Regions from separate parts of the Homo sapiens genome. Here regions 1 and 2 are each linked to region 3. The links are contacts of gene promoters, found by promoter capture Hi-C in blood cells and fetal thymus (Javierre and others, 2016). All regions are on one chromosome and are shown on one strand. Each heading gives the region's core, a stretch centred on a gene start or on the middle of the fragment in contact. The rest is flanking DNA. Distances are from core to core; before and after follow the strand shown.

Region 1 (3,669 bases), core at 169-2,668, 720 kb after region 3:
TAAAATCTCACTGACTGTATCCCCAGTTGTCCCCATTGCCCCTAGATTCATATAGTCCTATTAGCCCCCATTAATCCCTTGTTTTCCACCTTTATCCTAATACTACTTCATTGTACCTCCCACTCCCTATATCTCTCTCGTTTCACCCCATTCGCCATTAATCCCTTAGATGATTAGGCCCCTTTATTACTACATCCTTATGAACCTCTAACAATGCCTGGAGAATCATGGTCTATTAGCTCCCCATTAAGCATTCAATTACTGATTTATCAGCCCCCATTAACTCAGTTTTCTCCAATAGACCCTTCATAGATCACAGCACTAGCCTCCTGCCCTGTAACTCTTTCATTAACAAACACGTTAACTGATCACACATCAGTTCCCCATTCTCCCCTCACTGTCCACCCTGCTCTCCATGGATCCATCACTGGATGATCACACTCCAACAGTTTACTATTCACCTACTATGTATCAACAGAAGTTAACCCCCCCAACCCTAGTTTACTATTGCCCTCTCTTTACTCACTCTGTCCCCTAATTCCTCGACGGTCATGCCACCATAGCCCAACTACTGACTCTGACTACAACACCATCAGCCTCTCATTATCTTTTCTTTCACCAAGGCCCCTTGATCATGACCTCCATCCATCTATTATTCCCCCCACAACCTCACCATCATCCTTGCCATTACGATGCCCCATCACTTTCCATTAACCCGTTGAATATCATACCTCCATCAATACCTGGGGGATCATTTTCCCATCCATCACTCGTTATATTCTAGTTGCTTACTCTGCCATCCCCTCATTAATCAATCAATGAACAACAGTTCGACTAAAATATTCTTATTAGCCCCCATTGATTCCCCAGTAACACCCCACCCTCACGCTCCACCCAACCTCCCAAAACAGCCTTCTGACCACACTCCCCGTCCCTCCTCATCAATACCTCAAAGATGATAGCTCCATCGGGACCACCGGGTACCCCTCCAGGCGGCTCCGACCGCTGCGTCCCATGTCCCCACCTCGAATCCACCCCGTCTACTGGTCCCCTTCTGCAGACAAACCTTGGGTCTAGAACCCACCCGGTGCCAGCCGCCCGAACCATACACAGCTACGGCGCCCAGGGCGGACCTCCCTCCTTTCCCCGCAGGCGGGACAGTGCAGGCGTGCCTCAATAGCCTCCGCCCGCATTCCTGTCCTCCGCGCCCCAGGGCCCACCTTAGTTTTCGGAGCAGGGTGGTCCGCGAGCAGCCTGTGCCTCGGCGAGAGCGCAAACGGGCGACAAGTCCTAGGGCTTCAGTTTGTGTTCGTAGTCCACCCGAATGCCCGGGGGGGCAAGCCTATGGGCTGTCGCAGCGTGGCAAACTCGGCATCGTGGATCGCCCAGGTTCCGGCGGGCCGGGACCTGATGTGAACGTACAACGTGAGCCCCGTCATCTATTGTCGACGTATCCGGGGCTCGCGAACTGCGTTTCCCGGCATGCAACGGGCACGGCCAAAGCGGCTGAATCCACGCACTGCGTGGCTGCAGCGACGCGACGCGCAAGTTGCCAGCGATTCTTTGTTCTTTTTCTTCCGAGGCCAAGATCGATTTGCTCCCCCGCCCCTCCCTTCTTGGACCGTGCTTGTTATTGAGCCTGTAAACTACATTTCCCAAGATGCCACGCGCAAGATGGCGCCCATTCATTTTTCGCGTGCCGGGAAGCGAAATTACCACTCGGGGCATAAACGTGACAGTAAGGAAAATGCGTTCTTGAAGTGCGCGAGCGCGCGGAGGCTGCTCGGCTGCAATTTCAGATCGCACTACAGCTAATGCATGGCGCTGCCTGAGTTTTACTGCCTCAGAACTTCAGTTTCCCTGTCTGGAAAGTGGGGATAATCAATAGTATAGACTTAACAGCATTATTGGGAGGGTTAAATAGGTGTAGCTTAGCCACTCTCTGGGCTTTTGTAATTCTGTGATCTTCAAATATTTTAAATTCCATCCCAGACACAAAAAAAGACTATACATCCTGACCCAGTGGACAAACGGAAAAATAATGAAAACGTTTATCATAGTGTTTACCATGTGCTAGGCTCTAAATGCCCTCAGTGGTGTGCTGGTAAATGGTTAACCACTGGCTGGGGCGGGGGTGGTGGCGGGGAGGGGTGGGGGGAAGGGAGGCTGGTTTCTAGCATTTACCAATTTCCATGGCTTAGGTACAATCTTCTTGTTAGATTTCAAGGTACCGACCTGTGGTCACTGAACAGGGAGTTTAAAAGAGATGCAGTAGTGCACTATCATGTATTATTTTTACCATACAGATAAAATGGGGGTAAATGACCTCAAGAGCATAGAGAATAGTGGAATGTGGTAAAATTAGGAAGTTACCAGTTTTGAGTAAGTTTATATCATTTCATTTTTAACCATAGCTGTTTAACTTTAGGGGGCTGAGGTGGAAGGATCGCTTGAGTCCAGGACTTCAAGACCAGCCTGGGCAATATGGTGAGATCCCCGTCTCTACAAATAATAAAAATAGCCGGGCGTGGTGGTGTGTGCGAGTAGTTCCAGCTACTTGGGAGGCTGAGGTGGGAGGATTGCATGAGCCTGGGAGGTCAAGGCTGCAGTGAGCCTTGATCTTGCCACTGCACTCCACTGTGGGTGACAGAGTGAGACCCTGTCTCAACAAACAAACAAAACCAGTTGTTAAACCAGCTGTTTAACAACCAGTTTGCAAAATTTCTGAAAATTGAACAGCTCCTCCCAACCTGTATAAGTTGGCTCCAGCATGTCCTTCCCTTTGTTCATTCATTTTAATCCTGGCAACATGCATATGAGTATTAGCCAGGGGCGGCGGCATGTGCCTTTAGTCCCAGCTACTCCAGAGGCTGAGGTGGGAGGATCCCTGGAGCCCAGGGGTTTGAATCTAGTCTGGGCAACATAGCGAGAACCCATGTCTCTTTAAAAAATAAAAGGGCTGGATGCAGTGGCTCACGCCTATAATCCCAGAACTTTGGGAGGGCGAGGCGGGGGGATCACTTGAGGTCAGGAGTTGGAGACCAGCCTGGCCAACATAGTGCAACCCCGTCTCTACTAAAAATACAAAAATTAGCTGGGCGTGGTGATGCGCACCTCTAGTCCCAGCTACTCAGGAGGCCAAGGTGGGAGGATCACTTGAACCTGGGAGGTGGAGGTTGCAGTGAGCCGACATCGTGCTACTGCACTCCAGCTTGGGCGACAGAGTGAGACCCTGTCTCAAGAAAAAAAAAAAAAACAGAATGATTGATTCCTTAGCACACGAGCTTCACCAGGCAGGGATTCCTGTTCTGTCATGTTCACTGCTGCCTCCCAGTGCCTGGAACAGGGGTGGCGCACAGTTGGTGTTCAATAAATGTTGGTTGAATTCATCCTTTTGTTGCTTCGTTCCTTAATTTTTTCCCCAGTGGTGCGTCCTGCATTTCTATGGAGCCCTGGGTGGAGGCGTAGAGACTCTGAGAACCAGGGAAGAAGCCAGAGCTTTGTCAGCAGAACTCAAGGGCATTGTGGGACTGTGGGAACATGACTCCCCTGCAGAGGCGAGCGAGTGTGAGAAAGGAAGGGTTCGAGCCACCAGGCCTCCGCTCCACAAGAGAGGAGGGGGTGCCAGGCATTGGGGGCCCATGTTCACCCTGTGGGACGCTTCCCACG
Region 2 (3,343 bases), core at 183-2,682, 690 kb after region 3:
CTGATTATAGAAATCCACAATGCCAACATTTTAGAAGTCTAGAATGTGAGAATTTCAAATTGTCAGAATCTCCAAACGCTGTAATCATGGTACTTTGGGATTCCATAACCCTGTGACATCAGCATGCCAATGTCTTATAACCTTGGGATGTAGACATTTCAGAATCCCAAGATCCAAGAATCTCAGCTTTCTGGAATCCCAGAACTCAGGAATACTGAAGGGCATGGCTTGGCATGGCAGGATGTGGCTCGGTGTGGCATGGCATGGGGTGGCTGGCATAGTAGGATGTGGTATGGTGGAATGGGGTTTGGCCTGGTGGGATGTGGTGGGGCTGAACATGTTGGGGTCCAGCTTGGACATGCTAGGGCCTGGCAGGATGTGACAGGGTAAGGTGTGGCTCGATATGGATGAATGTGGGAGGTCTGATATGGCCTGGCATGGTGGCACACGGTATGGCAGGCACTTACCGAGCCTCCAGAGGAGGCGGCAGGCGAGGCAGATGGCAAGGAGCAGCCAGATCTGGTCAAGGCCCTGCTGGGCAGTAGGCAGGAGACAGCCTTGCAGTAGCTGCTGGAAAAATTCCTGGCGGCTAAAGGTGGCCATTGCAGACCCCCACGGATGGATGGCCAGATGGATAGATCTGTCAAAGCAGGGACACAGAGGGAGCGGGTGTCCGTGGGGCAGACCTCGCTTAAAGGATGCACTCTGGCACTCACATTTCAGTTTGGGGCTGCCCAGCCCATGTAGAGGCACGGTACTGGAGGACTGGGGGAAGGCGTGAGAAGTCAGGTACATCAGACTGAGCCACCAACTGTGTGCATGTGGGTGTTCGGCATGCACACGCACAGCCTGTGACCTGGAGTGAATGAAGGACCTCTGTCTCTCCAGTGCTGTGAACAGTCCAGTCCGATGGTGATGGGATGGCATACATTTCAGGCCCATATATCAAATGGGGCGGGCGACGGGAAGGGGAATCCCTGGTTTCCAAGGTAGAGTCGCTCTGAGTGGAGGGCAGAGAGGGGGATTCTGTGACACTTGGGGGCCGTGTGCATCTCTCCTTGTATGGATGCGGCGGCACGGGGAGGGGGGGTGTCCTGTATCCTCCGCGCCCCCCATCTCATCCCCACCCGGCGAGAGGCCGCCAACAAAGTCCTGCCCAGGTCCGGGGGCTGCAAGGAGGTGGTGGTAGGAGACATAGCCTGAGGGAGAGTCGGAAAGGTGATGGGGAGGGGGTCCTAGCACTCGCGCTACAGATCCGCCTGGGGAGGCCGGCCCAGGGATGGGAGCTGGGGAGCCGCGTGCGCACTACTGGCGACCTACCTGGCAGGAAAGAAGCCGTGGTCCTGGGGACCGAGGACGCGCTGCCGCCGCCGCTGCCTCCTCCGGGCAGCCTCCCCCGCAGGCCGCAAGGCCGGGACCAGCAGCGGCTCCCAGAGCGGCGCGGCGAGCGGGCCCTTTAAATCCCGGGGCGGCCCGGCCGCCGGCTCGGCCAATGGGAGAGCAGGAGGGGGGCGGGGACGGGGACGCGGAGGAGGGGAGCAGGAGGATTGAGGGGAGACCGGCGCGGGGGGACGTCGGCGCGCAGGACGTTCACGCCCGCACCTTTCCGGCCTGTGGCGGTTTCAGCCCCAGACCGTCTGCCTCCGGAGGATTTCTGGCCATCCAAGAACAAACTTCCGAATCTCCAAATTTCCAAGCCTTGGAAGTGAGAAGGGAAAGATGGGGGAGGGAGGAGGGAAGCCGCTGCACCCCCAAATAGTCACCCGCGCACGTCCTCTAAATACCGTGGTGTCCCCGTTTCACAGATGGGAAAACAAACCGAGATCTCTCCTTCCCCAACCTTTGAGAGAACCGAAGTAACTCCCAACCCTCCCACCTCCTGGGACCGGCCAGGAACATTTATAAGTAATGACTGTGTCACCTAGGAACACAAATTAGGCGCCTGTGCTTCCCCTGGGGACGAGCTGTGAGCACTTGGCGTGTCGTCGTTGAGAAGTGATTTGCATGCTTAATTCCCCAGCAGACTCTTTGCTTCGAAGGTGACCCCAGCGACTAGTAAATGTTCTCTGTGAACTAGAGGGAGGCTAGTACCGAGCACTTAAAAGGGGGGCATTTATAAAGCTCTTAAGGGCCAGGCTCGGTGGCTCACGCCTATAAACCCAGCACTTCGGGAGGCCAAGGGTAGGAGGATAGCTTGAGGTCAGGAGTTCGAGACCAGCCTGGCCAACATGGCGAAACCCCGTCTCTACTAAAAATACAAAAATTAGCCAGGCGTGGTGGCGCACGCTTGTAATCCCAGCTACTCGGGAGGTTAAAGCAGGAGAATCAGGAGGCAGAGGTTGCAGTGAGCCAAGATCGCGTCATTGTGGGCTACAAGAGCGAAACTCCGTCTCAAAATAAATAAATAAAGACTGGGCGTGGTGGCTCACACCTGTAACCCAGCACTTTGGAAGGCCGAGGCGGATGGATCACCTGAGGTCATGAGTTTGAGACCAGGCTGGCCAATATGGCGAAACCCTGTCTCTACTAAAAATACAAAAAATTTAGCTGGGCGCCTGTAATCCCAGCTACTCCGGAGGCTGAGGCAGGAGAATCACTTGAGCCCAGGAGACGGAGGTTGCAGTGAGCCGAGATCACGCCATTGCACTCCAGCCTGGGTGACAAGAGCAAAACTCCTTCTCCAAAATAAATAAATAAATAAACAAGAGCGAAACTCCTTCTCTAAATAAATAAATAAATAAAATAAAAAAGAAAGCGCTTACACTGGCCCCATCCGCACCTCTATCTGCACCAACACTAAAGATTTATGTAGCACCCGCCTTCTACCTACCCTACTGCTGCAGTTTCTAGGCATTCCCCTTTGTACCTAGGCTGATGAAGGGCCTATTTTTCCAAAAGAGCACTTACTGGGCGCTTACTGCACTACATGCTTAGCTGTGACGTGGAAGGGAGAAGGAAGCCCAGGTCAAACTGGACGCCACCCTGACCTGGGCAGCCAACTGAAACAGATTTTAATCAGATTAACAATGGCCTGTATGGAGCTGGGCAAGTCATGTTCACTCACCCGTCTCCATTGTCCTTTTCTGTTAAACAAAAGAGTGGGCTTGGCAGGTTTTTGCTGGGAAACACCAATGGTAATTGAAGAGAAATGTATATTTTCTCTCTATTTTAACATGAAGTTAAATGGAGTTCTAGCTCATAAATTAGTATTCATGTATTACAAACAAAAAACATTTAATACGGTAAGAATATGTATATATAAGGAATAATAGCTTAGACCAGATGCACAAATATCAATTCTTTTCCTTAACAGCAGAATACAGGACATACATTTTATGAATTA
Region 3 (3,748 bases), core at 721-3,220:
GGAATAAATAGGTAAAGTGGTAGAGTTCGAGTAGGCATTAATTTGACAAAGAGGAAGAAAGAAATAAGGGAGATGGCTAGATGGGGGCAGGAGTTTCAGGGTGTGCTTAAAATGCAGACTATGAAAAAGGAACCTGGAAGGCCTTGAACCGTGTTTAAACTGCAGGGACTCTGGGCACTGCCAGCTAGTAGCTGGCTGACCTTGTGAGAGTCACTTAAGCTCTCTGGGGAATTATTTTCCTCGTCTGTAAAAACGGCCTAATAGTCCCTACAACGTAGGACTTCTGTAAGCATTAAATGAGTGAACATGTTTAACAAACTCAGAAAAGAGCCTGGCAAAGTTGTCACACTGTAGGACCGAGCAGGGAGGTCTCCTCTCCCCGGCCCTCGACTTGTGTTTTCCCAACGCATATTCCCGCACGCTCTCACGGCTCCAGCCTCCGGGCCGGAATGGCTGCCGGTGAGACTGTGGTACAACCCGCTGTGCGCAGGCGCGTGGCGGGCAAGGAGGGGGCGCGAGGGGCGGGGCTGCAGCCGCCTGGGCTGTTCCAACGAGCGCGCGCCGCCCCCGCCGCGCCCCGCGCCGCCCTTGCTAGCCGAGCCTCCCGCCCCCTGCATTGCTGATGCTGCTGCTGGCGGACATGGACGTGGTGAATCAGGTACGCGCTCCAGCACCGTGGACAGAGCCCGCCGCCGCCCGGCTGCCTAGGCCGGGTCGCTCAGGCCAGCCGACTCTGGGAGGTGGTGGCCAGGGTCTGGCAGCGGAGACCCGGTCCCCGGCGCTGGGGATGGGGGTCTGCGGCAGGTGAAGGGGAGGAAGGGGGAGGTGGAGAAAAGGAGTGCGCTCTTTGCCGCAGCGAGGGCCGTCCTCACTGCCGCAGCGGGGGCCCCCGGAGCCCCGTTTATTACTGGCGACCGCGAGGGGAGGAATAGGGGCCTGGGGGCTGGAGTGAGGGCAAGGGACAAGGGGAGGGGAGAGTGGAAGGAAGATGGGGGGTGCTGCGGATAAGCTAGGAAATAGAGCGACAGAAGGTGTGGGGGCGGGGATGGGGGAGAGGGCTGGCACCCGCCCCTCCCAAACAGAGACTGTACCCCCATAGGCGACCACCCCTTCCCCCAGAGCACACCTAGGGGACAATCCGGTTTTACTCCTTCCAAAACCCCCAGCCTCCTCACCCCCAACACATAGCGACTGAAGCCGTGTCCCAGCCCTCCCCCACCTTAATCAGTCCAGACCCTCTCCGCCATGTCTCTCGTCTTTGCCACCTCAGAAACTCACCCCCAATCAGTCCCAACCCTTCCCCATCCCCATCACCTCAAATATCTACCGCCACCGCCGTCTAACACACCTTTACCCCTGCAGACCCTTCCCCCACCTGAGCCAAACCGACTCCTGCCCCGTTATGACTCACCTTCACCATCACAACCCCCCCACCCGAATGCACCCCACTCCATCCCCATTCTCTACCCGAACCCCTTCCCCATCCGACTCGCCTTTACGTTTCAAACCTGCTCCCCCTCCTTAACTAGTCCTGACCTCATCCCCATCTCCCTCACCCCCGACTTCCTCTGCCATCTGACTCACCATCTCTTCAGACCTTCCCACCAGTCCTTGGACCCTGGGGCTCACACCATCCCCAAGGTGTCACTTTCTCCTTCTCACCCTCTCCCCGAGGTCACATGCTCCATCCCCTGGGGTCATTGATGGGCAGCCTTGCCGCTCACCTCCCTGTACCTCCAACAACCCCACCCCTTCCCCACTGTTTCTCTCCTCAGCTGGTGGCTGGGGGTCAGTTCCGGGTGGTCAAGGAGCCCCTCGGCTTTGTGAAGGTGCTGCAATGGGTGAGTGTGGTCCGGGCTGTTGGGGCAGAGTGCAGGGAGAGAGGGAGGTCATGGGGTCCAGAAGAGCAGGGGTGGAGTAGGGGCGAGTAGCCAGGGATGAGTGCGGGGGTTGTAGGGGATGGGGGAATTGGGCTCCAGGGTGAGGTTTCAGGGGTCTGAAGCCAGAAAACAGATGAGCTGTGACGTCACATAGGGCTGAGGGTACCCCCGTTGTGAAGTGGGAGACTGTGACGTCCTACCTCCTCTCTTGAAGTGAGGGAGGGGTGGGGGAGGTGGAGCCTGTAGCAGATGCTGGGTGAGAGATGCAAAGTCAGAGAAACCCAGAGACAGTGAAGGTGACAGAGAGAATGAGGGACAGGGAATGATAAAGACAGAGATGGAAATACTGAGAAAAAAAAAAGAAATATGGAGATGAGAAGAGATACAGACATAAGAGAGAAGAGACAAACAGAAACAAAGAAAAAGGAGACACAGAAAACAGATGCAAAGAGAAACAGACGCAGGGAGAGAGGCAGGAAAACAGGGTGAGGGAGAGAGAGACACAGAGAGAAAGAGACACTCAGAAAAAAGAGAAACCAACACACAGAGGCAAGAGGGAGACAGAGAGAGAACCATCCGGAGACCGAGTGAGAGACAGGACAGAGAGACAGAGACAAACAGACCAAGAAACAGAAAGACACAGACATACAGGCATACACTTACACAGACAGAGAAAAAAGAGACAAAAAGAGACATCGACAGATCAGATAGGCAGAGGCAGAGAGGATCAGAGACACAGAGAGACAAAGAGACATCTGAGAAAGACAAAGACACATAGAGAAACAGAGATACCGAGAGAAACAGAGACACAGTGAGATACACAGAGAACAACAGAGACAAACAGAGAAGAGGGAGGTCAGCATGGAAAGGCAGAGACAGAGAGAGACACAGAGAGAGAAACAGGAAGAGACAGCCATACCCTTGTAATCAGCTTGTCCTTGGTCCCGATGAGCCCTGATTAGGGGGTGGGGGTGGGGACTGCTCCATCTGCTGCTGCCTGTGCTGGGCCCCCGATCTGTCCAGAGGAGGGCACCTCCCTCCCACATGCACACAGGTTCACTGTGGCCATCCCCATCCCTGCTGCCCAAGGTCTTCGCCATCTTCGCCTTTGCCACATGCGGCAGCTACAGTGGGGAGCTCCAGCTGAGCGTGGATTGTGCCAACAAGACCGAGAGTGACCTCAGCATCGAGGTCGAGTTCGAGTACCCCTTCAGGTGTGCTCCCACCCTGGGATACCAACAGACCTGGGAGAGGAAGGGGCAGGGTGGAACCGGCCAATACCTCCCCCCGCAAGTAGCTCCTGCCCAGCTCCCACCTCGAGGCTACATCCACTGGGATCACTGAGCACCTGCCTTGTACCTGGCACTGCTCTGGACTCTAGGACTATGTGGTGAGCAAGGCAGACATAGGCTGTGGCCCTCTGGCTCTGTTCCAGCGAAGGGGTAAGGGACAGGCAATAAACAAGATACAAAAGTAAGACAGGTGTATATACATACCTTAACCCAGTAGGTACCCAATTAATGTTAGCCAATATTATTATTTAATCCCCATTCATTCATTCTATACACATTTTTGAGAACTTATTTTATATCTGGTACTACTCAAAGTGCTGGAAGCATGATAGTAACTAAAACAGACCCAACTCCCGCCAGGCACAGTGGCTCACGCCTGTAATCCCAGCACTTTGAGAGGCCGAGGTGGGCGGATCACCTGAGGTCAGGAGTTCGAGACCAGCCTGACCAACATGGAGAAACCCCGTCTCTACTAAAAATACAAAATTAGCCAGGCGTGGTCATGCATGCCTGTAATCCCGGCTACTCAGGAGGCTGAGGCAGGAGAATCACTTGAACCTGGGAGCCGAAATCGCG

The links. Contacts are between HindIII fragments. The CHiCAGO score rates a contact against its expected background, and 5 or more counts as called.
Region 1: a contact is called between the fragment with the promoter of FTSJ1 here and the fragment with the promoter of SYP-AS1 in region 3, in 1 of 17 cell types (neutrophils). The highest score is 5.8, in neutrophils.
Region 2: the fragment with the promoter of PORCN here is called in contact with the fragment with the promoter of SYP-AS1 in region 3 in 5 of 17 cell types (activated CD4 T cells, neutrophils, total B cells and 2 more); the score reaches 9.4 in activated CD4 T cells.

The regions. Positions count from the first base shown.
Region 1 is chrX:48,473,948-48,477,616 of GRCh38, reverse strand. It overlaps FTSJ1 (FtsJ RNA 2'-O-methyltransferase 1), which reads right to left and starts at 1,418. Exons shown (of 13, transcript NM_012280.4): 1 at 1,221-1,418. LOC124905185 (a long non-coding RNA gene) reads left to right here and starts at 1,274. Exons shown (of 2, transcript XR_007068226.1): 1 at 1,274-1,738; 2 at 2,429-3,389. The HindIII fragment of the contact is 16,848 bases long and covers 1-3,669 here.
Region 2 is chrX:48,507,081-48,510,423 of GRCh38, reverse strand. PORCN (porcupine O-acyltransferase) reads right to left here and starts at 1,432. Exons shown (of 15, transcript NM_203475.3): 1 at 1,321-1,432; 2 at 468-640. The coding sequence starts at 603. It overlaps PORCN-DT (PORCN divergent transcript), which reads left to right and starts at 1,585. Exons shown (of 2, transcript NR_135596.1): 1 at 1,585-1,705. RefSeq lists a silencer at 1,206-1,605. The HindIII fragment of the contact is 7,257 bases long and covers 1-3,343 here.
Region 3 is chrX:49,197,061-49,200,808 of GRCh38, reverse strand. It overlaps SYP-AS1 (SYP antisense RNA 1), which reads right to left and starts at 1,970. Exons shown (of 2, transcript NR_046649.1): 1 at 1,585-1,970. It overlaps SYP (synaptophysin), which reads left to right and starts at 616. Exons shown (of 7, transcript NM_003179.3): 1 at 616-658; 2 at 1,776-1,841; 3 at 2,970-3,094. The coding sequence starts at 623. RefSeq lists silencers at 424-663, 734-783. The HindIII fragment of the contact is 12,908 bases long and covers 1-3,748 here.